2 separate regions of the Homo sapiens genome follow, and region 2 is linked to region 1. The links are contacts of gene promoters, found by promoter capture Hi-C in human tissues and cell types (Jung and others, 2019). All regions are on one chromosome and are shown on one strand. Each heading gives the region's core, a stretch centred on a gene start or on the middle of the fragment in contact. The rest is flanking DNA. Distances are from core to core; before and after follow the strand shown.

The links. The method cuts DNA at HindIII sites, captures the fragments that hold promoters and counts their contacts. A contact is called where the count stands out against the background at its distance.
Region 2: a contact is called between the fragment with the promoter of CCL25 here and a fragment that was not itself captured in region 1, in 1 of the 25 tissues and cell types used here (spleen).

The regions. Positions count from the first base shown.
Region 1 is chr19:8,378,103-8,382,541 of GRCh38, reverse strand. All of the region lies in intron 1 of RAB11B-AS1 (RAB11B antisense RNA 1), which reads left to right. LOC124904632 (a long non-coding RNA gene) reads right to left here and starts at 2,943. Exons shown (of 2, transcript XR_007067128.1): 1 at 2,565-2,943. The HindIII fragment of the contact is 3,783 bases long and covers 1-3,451 here.
Region 2 is chr19:8,049,746-8,054,211 of GRCh38, reverse strand. It overlaps CCL25 (C-C motif chemokine ligand 25), which reads right to left and starts at 1,452. Exons shown (of 6, transcript NM_005624.4): 1 at 1,390-1,452; 2 at 1,090-1,212. The coding sequence starts at 1,162. RefSeq lists silencers at 3,450-3,509, 3,810-3,899. The HindIII fragment of the contact is 31,009 bases long and covers 1-4,466 here.

The DNA of each region.
Region 1 (4,439 bases), core at 311-2,810:
AAGGGGGCAGCTTGTTTCTCATTGGACAATCTTTTTTAAAGTGTCCTTGCAAACCACACTGCTAACAAGCCATACTGGATGATTGGCCTGCTCCATTTTCTGTCCTCTCTGAACCACCAAGGTTTGTTTGTCTGAGGGCCATGACTAAGTCTGCGGCCTTTCTCTGATCTCACTTTTCCTTTTGGGCCTGTTCCTCTTGGTCCCTGTTATAGAACAGTGAGGTTGCCAGGTTTAATAATGCCTCTAGATTTTGTTCAGGGCACAGGGCTCACTTTTGGAGCTTTCTCCTGATATCTGTGGCTGATTGGATAATAAACTTATCTTTTAGGATCAATTGACCCTTGAGTGATTTGGGTGACAGGGGAGTATATTTTCTTAAGGCCTTCTGTAGCCACTCGAGGAAGGCAGAAGGATTTTCTTCCTTTCCCTGAGTTATGGTGGACATCAGTGAATAATTCATGGGCTTCTTCCTAATTATCCTTAGTCCTTCTAGAACATAGGTCAACAGATGTTTATGACTCCAGTCCCCATGATCTGAATTGAAGTCCCAGTGGGGATCCATACTGGGGATGGCTTGCTGACCAGTAGGGAATTTGTCCCTTTCTTCAGCTGTCATTCTATCATTTACTTAACTAAGATACCAGGTACCTCCAAAGTCTTGGGCTGCAGCTAAAGCTGCATTATTTTCATTAAAGGCCAGGGTTTGATCTAACAATAGCATGACATCTCTCCAAGTGAGATTGAAGATTTGCCCTAGACCCTGTAGGACATCTATGTACCTATCAGGATCATCTGAAAACTTCCCCAGGTGTGCCTTGATCTGCTTTAAATCAGAGAGGGAGAAGTAGACATGTACCCATGTTAGGCCAAATTCCCCTCCCGCTACAATTTGAAGGGGACATAACCGACAGCCCAGGGGAGTTTTGTGGTCCTTTGGAGATTTCTTTGCTTATTTCCTTCTGGGCAGGGGAGATTAGAGGAGGCTTGTCACTAATACGAAGGGGAGCTGTAGGGAGGCTAGGATATGGGGGTAAGCTGAAAGGTTCTCCTGTGGGATGTAAATTGCAACCTTTGCATAGATGTGTATTCTCCTTTAATGAAAGGAAAGCTTGGACATAACTATTTCACTCCATTTGCCTTTCTCTTACAGAAAAGGTCAAGCTGCAGGATAGTATTGTAATTTGTACTTCCCTCAGATGGCCATTTTTCCCCATCAGAGAGAGAATATTGGGGCCAGGCCACAGTGCAGAAAAAAATGAGCTGCCTCTTTTTCAGGGTTTGCAGGTCAGACTGGTCCCAATGGCCTAGGATGCATTTCAAGGGTGAGCCTGTTGATGCCTGTTTCCCATCTGAAAGACAAAACCACCCACGATTTTGGTGTGTTTTTCTTCTCCCCCTGCCCAAGAATCCACAATGGTCCTTGGGCCCTGCTGATCGGAATAGTTGCGCTCACTGATGCAGCAGCAGAAACAACCCCTGCCCAAGAACCCGTAATGGTCACTAGACCCTGCTGATTGGAATAGTTGCACTCACCAACGCAGCAGCAGAAACAGTAGCTTTCCTCCCAGACCACAAGGAGAACCGAGGAAGGTCGGATTTAGTGGCCCTTACCAACGCATTCTCAAAAAACCTGCACCCTTGCCTGTCCTCCTAGACCACAAAGATGACCGAGAAAAATTGGATTTAGTGGCCCTTACCAACACATTCTCGAAAACCTGTTACAGTCCTAAGCATTCTCCTTTTAGTATTGGGACCTTACCAATTTCCTACAATGATGTTATGCCCCAAAAATGAAGTGGAGGGCCATACCATGAGGGAAGGAAGGGATCTCCAGGGTTGGAAGAGTGACACCTTTTGTCCTCACTTATATGAATAGGAAGAATACAATTTCTGAGGCTCCCCATATCCTAGCTTCAGGAATAGCTTTTATTAGTCCTGCTTGTCTGAGGAGGGATCCTAAAATTCCAGATAGCCCCCCTACAACAGGGCTTTGGGCAAAAATTATGTCTTTCTGATTAGTGAGCCTAGGTGCCTAAAGAAGGTAACAGAGTCCTGAAGTTTATACTAGAAGTCATTCTTATAGGAGAAACTAGAAAAGCACCAGAGACAGGGAGTGGTTTTTAGAGGTGGGACTAGCCTCGGAGAAGAGAGGCGAGAGGAAGTTTGTCTGACAGGCATTAGGACCCAGGAGGCAAGGGTCAGGACAGATAGGATAGATGGGCGAGTCTCACTTGGGCGACATGACTTTGAGAGTTCTGCTCATGGCCACAGGATCAACCAACTTGTTGTCAAGACCCCAGAGCTGAATGGCTTTCCTGTCAACCCTCGACTCAGCCCAGAAGTACAGGAAAAGCGGAAGCTGGTTCCAGGCAAACTAACGCTCCCAACTCCAAAAAGTCGGGGTTTGTTAGAGAGCCCCTTCCCAGAAAGCCTCACACCCATGTCTTTAGTCCAGCACCTGCGCTAGTCGCTTTTAACTGGCCGACAGGTGCCCGGTATTTAGCCCCCAAATTCTAAGGAAAAATAGGACGAATAGCAAGCGAAAGGGGTCCGATGGTACTCACCGCTTGGTGATAGGCGATAGTCTCACCGCTTGGTGATAGGCGATAGTCCCTTCGTGGTCGCCAAAATGTGTCCAGTATTGGTGGGTTCTTGGTCTCACTGACTTCAAGAATGAAGCTGTGGACCCTCACGGTGAGTGTTACAGTTCTTAAAGATGGTGTGTCTGGAGTTTGTTCCTTCTGATGTTTGGATGTGTCTGGAGTTTATTCCTTCTGGTAGGTTCGTGGTCTCGCTGACTTCAGGAGTGAAGCTGCAGATCTTTGCGGTGAGTGTTACAGCTCATAAAGGTGGTGCGGACCCAAAGAGTGAGCAGCAGCAAGATTTATTGCGAAGAGTGAAAGAACAGAGCTTCTACAGCGTGGAAGGGAACCTGAGTGGGTTGCTGCTGCTGGCTCGGGTGGCCTTTTATTCCCTTATTTGGCCCCACCCACATCCTGCTGATTGGTCTATTTTACAGAGAGCTGATTGGTCCATTTTACAGAGTGCTGATTGTTCCGTTTTAGAGTGCTGATTTGTCCATTTTGACAGAGTGCTGATTGGTGCATTTACAAAACTTTAGCTAGACACAAAGTGCTGATTGGTGCATTTACAATCCTTTAGCTAGACAGAAAATTCTCCAAGTCCCCTACCTGATTAGCTAGACACAGAGCGCTGATTGGTGCATTTACAAACCTTTAGCTAGACACAGAGTGCTGATTGGTGCATTTACAATCCTTTAGCTAGACACAGAGTGCTGATTGGTACGTTTACAATCCTTTAGCTAGACAGAAAAGTTCAAGTCCCCACCCGACCCAGAAGCCTAGCCGGCTTCACCTCTCAATCCCATAAACAAATTTGACTCCTTCCCCATATCCACTCCCCCTCTTGTGTCTCCATCCTTCCTTCCCTCCCTCCCATCAAACCCAGAGGACATGGACTTCTGTCTCATCTTCTCCTCTCTGCCTCCCTCCCTCTATCATCCTCAGTTGCCTTATTCTGTCTCTCCTCCCTCTGAAATTTCTCTTGATTCTTTTTTTTTTTTTTTGAGGCAGGGTCTCACTCTGTTGCCCAGGCTGGAGTGCAGTGGCATGATCTCGGCTCACTGCACCCTCTGCCTCCCGAGTCCAAGCAATTCTCTGCCTTAGCCTCTCAAGTAGCTGGGATTACAGGCGCCCACCACCACACCTGGCTAATTTTTTTGTATTTTTAGTAGAGATGGGGTTTCACTATCTTGGCCAGGCTGGTCTTGAACTCCTAACCTCATGATCCACCCGCCTTGGCCTCCCAAAGTGCTGGGATTATAGGCATGAGCCACTGCACCCGGACTTTTTAAAAATTTATCGTAGAGATGAGGTCTTGCTGTGTTGCGTAGGCTGGTCTCAAACTCCAAGGTCCTCCAGCCTCAGCCTCCCAAAGAGCTGGGATTACAGTCGCGAGGCACTGGACCCAGCCTGTGATGAATATTAATGCCTTATTAATTCTTTACCACCCCCTCCCCACACCATGAGGCCAGGAAGGGATGGTGGCATGGAGGGGTGGGGTGTCAAAACCATCCCCATTTTCCAAATGCAGGAACTGGGGCCAGTGAGCTCCTGTGGTCCAGGAGAGGGATGTGATTTACAGCTGCAGCTCTGGAGTTTAACAGGTCCAGGTTCACATCCCAGCTTCCTGGCCCCTTGTTAGTTTCCTGCCATGGTGTTTTTCTTTTCTTTCTTTTTTTCTTTCTTTTTTGAGACAGAGTCTTGCTCTGTCACCCAGGCTGGAGTGCAGTGGTGCAATCTCAGCTCACTGCAACCTCCGCCTCCCAGGTTCAAGTGATTCTCCTGCCTTAGCCTCCCGAATAGCTGGGACTACGGGCATGTGCCACCATGCCTGGCTAATTTTTTGTATTTTTAGTA
Region 2 (4,466 bases), core at 203-2,702, 330 kb after region 1:
GGGGCAGACAGGGAAGGAGGGTGGGACCCTGGGTCTGCCGCCCAGCCAGGGACCCTGCTTTGGCCAGCTGCTGAAACTCAGAGGATGTAGGACCCAGTGTCAGGGCTCCCGTGGGGACACCCCAGGCCCAGGAATTGTCCTTTGGCGACTGAAATCCTCAAGTGCTTGCTCTGCGGTAGGGAGTGGGGAAGAAGGAAAGAGTTCCCTATTAATAACAGGAACAGTTACTATTGCCGCCGCCAGACATGAGGCCTAGTCTTTTGCAGGCATGAGCTCACTGGACCCTCAAGTCAGAGCCATGCAGTGGGAATTTTAGATTCCCACTTTGCAGCTGAGGAAACGGAGGCTCCTAAAGGTTTAGGAAGCCGGGCACAGTGGCTCAAACCTGTAATCCTAGCACTTTGGGAGGCTGAGGCAGGCGGATCGCCTGAGATCAGGAGATCGAGACTACTCTGGCCAACATAGTGAAACCCCATCTCTACTAAAAAATACAAAAATTAGCCGGGCATGGTACACACGCCTGTAGTCCCAGCTACTTGGGAGGCTGAGGCAGAAGGATCGCTTGAGCCCAGGAGGCGGAGGTTGCAGTGAGCCAAGATCGCGCCACTGCACTCCAGCCAGGGTGACAGAGTGAGACTCTGTCTCAAAAAAAAAAAAAAAAAAATGGTTTAGGAGCAACTAACTCTCAGCTGGACTGCATGGAGGGACCAGGATGGGAATCCACTCTTGTCAGTCTCCAGGGCCCTGATCTCCAACCCCACCCCTGGCTCGGCAGGATTAGGATTCTACAATACATCCCTGGCAGTAACTGGCTTTGCCCACAGCTGGAAGCCACCCTCTGCTCCCTCACATCTTTAGGAGTCTTGCAAAAGACTCCATGGGGCTCTCGAAGAAGGAACTGGGGACTCTCCATCTCCCCGACCCCATCCCAAGAGCTAACCAAACACCAGGAGTTCCTGCATGTCAGGAGCGGGAGAATTCAGTGGAGATGGGATTGGGGAGACTTCCGGAGGAGATAAGAGACAAAAGGGGTGGGGTGGGGGCATGGGGAGAGGGGCACTTGGTGGTAGGCATTGCCGAACACAGTACCTTGGGTGTGGACAGCGGGGGCCCAGGCTCCCAGGAAGCCGGCCACCAGGCAGGCCAGGAGCCACAGGTTCATGCTGCAGGCGGGTCCTCCTCCCTGGGCACCTGGACGAATAACGGGGCCACCTGGGGTCGTGGAGGGAAGTGGTAAGGACTGAGGAAGAGGAGGGGAGTGGGTACTGGGAACATCCCCCCTCTTAAGCCCCAGGCATATGGCAAGGGAAGGAGGTTGTATAAAGTAGGAACAAGTTGTGCTGGAGGGAAAAGCTGTTCATCTCAGTCATGTTCAAGGAAAAGACTCACCGATATCCACTGGGTCAAGGGAGCTGATGCCCGCCGGGCTGTAGGCCAAGCTGTCCCATCTGCAGGACCAACACGCTGAGCTTCACTCTTTATAGACAGAGCCCCACCCAGCCACCCCCTGCCCGCCCTCCTCCCTTCCTCCTCCTCTCCACCTGCACTCTCAGCCTCTGGAATTCTCCCTCTTCTACAGCAAGCTCCAACCTCGACCCACAGGCCCCCTTGCCTCCCCACTCCCCATCCCAGGCCTCCCAGCCAGCACCCCTACTGTCTCCAGAAAGGGCCTTTTCCCCTGTTTCCCTCACCTGCACACACCTGGTGGACACTGGCTGCCTGCGAACAAGGCTCAGACTGCCTTGAGCCCCCAAACAAGCCCTTACCTTCATGCTCCCCCCGCCCTCAAGCCACCTGTTCCCTGGTGGGTCCCCAACTTCACTCCATTTCCCTCTCCTTCCACACCATGGTTAGGTAACTTAGCATGTCACAGAAATCCTCTGGTTGTGATCACAGGCAAATCCATAGAAACAGAAAGTAAATTAGCGGTGGCCACAGGATGGGGGGAGGGGAGAATGAAGGACTGACTGTGAGAGGGTATGGGTTTCCTTTTGTTCTGAAATTAGATGAGAGTGATGGTTACATAACTCTATGAATATAGTCAGCACGGCACAATGGTGCACCTCCCACCGGTGAACAACCCCAACAAGAAAGAAACTCTCTAGGCCAGGCATGGTGGCTCATGTCTGTAAGCCCAACACTTTGGGAGGCCGAGGCCAGAGGATTGCTTGAGCCCAGGAGCTCAAGACCACCCCGGGCAATATAGAGAGACCTGCGTCACTACAAAAATTTTTTAAAAAATTAGCCTGACGTAGTAGTGCATACCTGTAGTCCCAGCCACTCAGGAGGCTGAGGTGTGAGGATTGCTTGAGCCTTGGAGGTTGAGGCTGCAGTGAGCTGTGATCATGCCACTGCACTCCAGCCTGGGCAACAGAGCAAGACCCTGTCTCAAAAAATGGAAAAAAAAACGGTGGCCGGACACAGTGGCTCACACCTGTAATACCAGCACTTTGGGAGGCCGAGGCAGGCGGATCCTCTGAGGTCAGGAGTTCGAGACCAGCCTGGCCAACATGGCAAAACCCCATCTCTACTAAAATTACAAAAATTAGCCGAGTGTGGTGGGGGGGCACCTGTAATTCCAGCTACTCAGGAGGCTGAGGCAGGAGAATCGCTTGAACCCGGGAGGCGGAGGTTGCAGTGAGCCGAGATTGGGCCACTGCATTCCAGCCTGGGCGACAAGAGTGAAACTCTGTCTCAAAAAAAAAAAAAAAAAAAAAAACAAAAGAAAAAGAAAAAATGGAAGAAATGTTTTGTTTTTGGAAGAAAAGCCAGGAGCCCCGGGTAGCCATGCCCTCAGGAAGCAAAGCAACATTCACCGAGAAGGCATGTCTTTTTTTTTTTTCTTCTGAGACGGAGTCTTGCTCTTTTGCCCAGGCTGGAGTGCGGTGGCGCTGTCTCGGCTCACTGCAAGCTCCGTCTCCCGGGTTCACGCCATTCTCCTGCCTCAGCCTCCCGAGTAGCTGGGACTACAGGCTCCCGCCACCACGCCTGGCTAATTTTTTGTATTTTTAGTAGAGACGGGGTTTCACCATGTTAGCCAGGATGGGAGAAGGCATGTCTTCTTTCCCTGGGGCAGCAGGACCCAGCCAGGACACAGGGACTGGGGGAGACACGAGGTGAAGATTAGGGAGGGCGAAAGGAGCGCTGCAGAGGCCGCACAGCTGATTGCTTTAAACTTTTTATCGCCTGCATCCATAGCTACATCTGACCTCTGTGGGTATTTATCACATCCTAAACTCCTTTCTCATTTCTCCCCTTCCACTGGGAGCCCAGAGGCGGCGGCCCCTAGCCTACTTCCCTGTCCCAAACCACATGGCCGGGTGAGTGGGGCTTAGAGGTGGGGCCGGGCCTGGTGGGTGTGGCTTCTAGCCGGGGACGTGACTAGATAAATGACACTTAGAGCCCAGGGGCAGGGCTGGGTGGGCGTGGCTTATGGCTATGGGCGGGGCTTGCTATATGGCTCCGAGTCAGGGGCAGGGCAGAGTGAGTGGGATTTAAGACAGTGGGCGGAGCCTGACAGATGGCGCTTATGGTAAGGGGCCGGGCTTTGTAGGAGGGGCTTAGACTGGGGCGGGGCTTGCACGGTCAGCCCCGCCCCACCAGAGCAGTTAAGACGCGTCGGGGGCAGGTGCTCTCACCCGTCCCGTTGCTGCGGCCAGTGGCAGCCCACGGGCCGGGGCGCTGTTCCAGTTCCTCCGCCTCTTGCTCTGGGTGGGTGAGGCTGGACCAGGACGCGGCTCCGCGTGGCTGCGAGCGTGGGGAAGCGGCGTGGCGGGCTGGGGCCAGCCTCTCCGCTACGGCTCACTGCCCCCTACCTTCCCAACCCGCGGGCCGCGGCCAAGACGGTGTTACCCAGACTTGGGGGAGGTCCCCAACGTGAGTCTCCCTCCCTGCCTCACCCCTCACTGTTTGTCCCGCCGGCAGCCTTCACGGGGAGGAAGGGTTCCCAGTAAGGGGGCCCTCCAGGGACCAGCAAGCACGGAGCACTGGGGTGGGCGCGCTGGGGACCTGGGACCCAGGGGTTGGAGCAAGAAACGGGATGATCCCGGAGTTCTGAGGACCACAGTTGCTTTGAGTAAAGGCCAGACCTTCACAGTCGGGGCTGGACTGGCCTCTTCCACTCCTGCAGCAGCTGGGGGCATTAAGAGTAATCCGCTATCGGCCGGGAGCAGTGGTTCACACTTGTAATCCCAGCACTTTGGGAGGCCGAGGCGGGCGGATCACCTGAGGTCAGGAGTTCGAGATCAGCCTGGCCAACATGGTGAAACCCCATCTCTACTAAAAATACAAAAAAAAAAAAAAAATAGCCGGGCATGGTGGTGCGCACCTGTAATCCCAGCTACTTGGGAGGCTGAGGCAGGAGAATTGCTTGAACCCAGGAAGTGGAAGTTGCAGTGAGCCAAGATCTTGCCATTGCACTCCAGCCTGGGCAACAAGAGCAAAACTCCATCTCATAAAAAAATAAA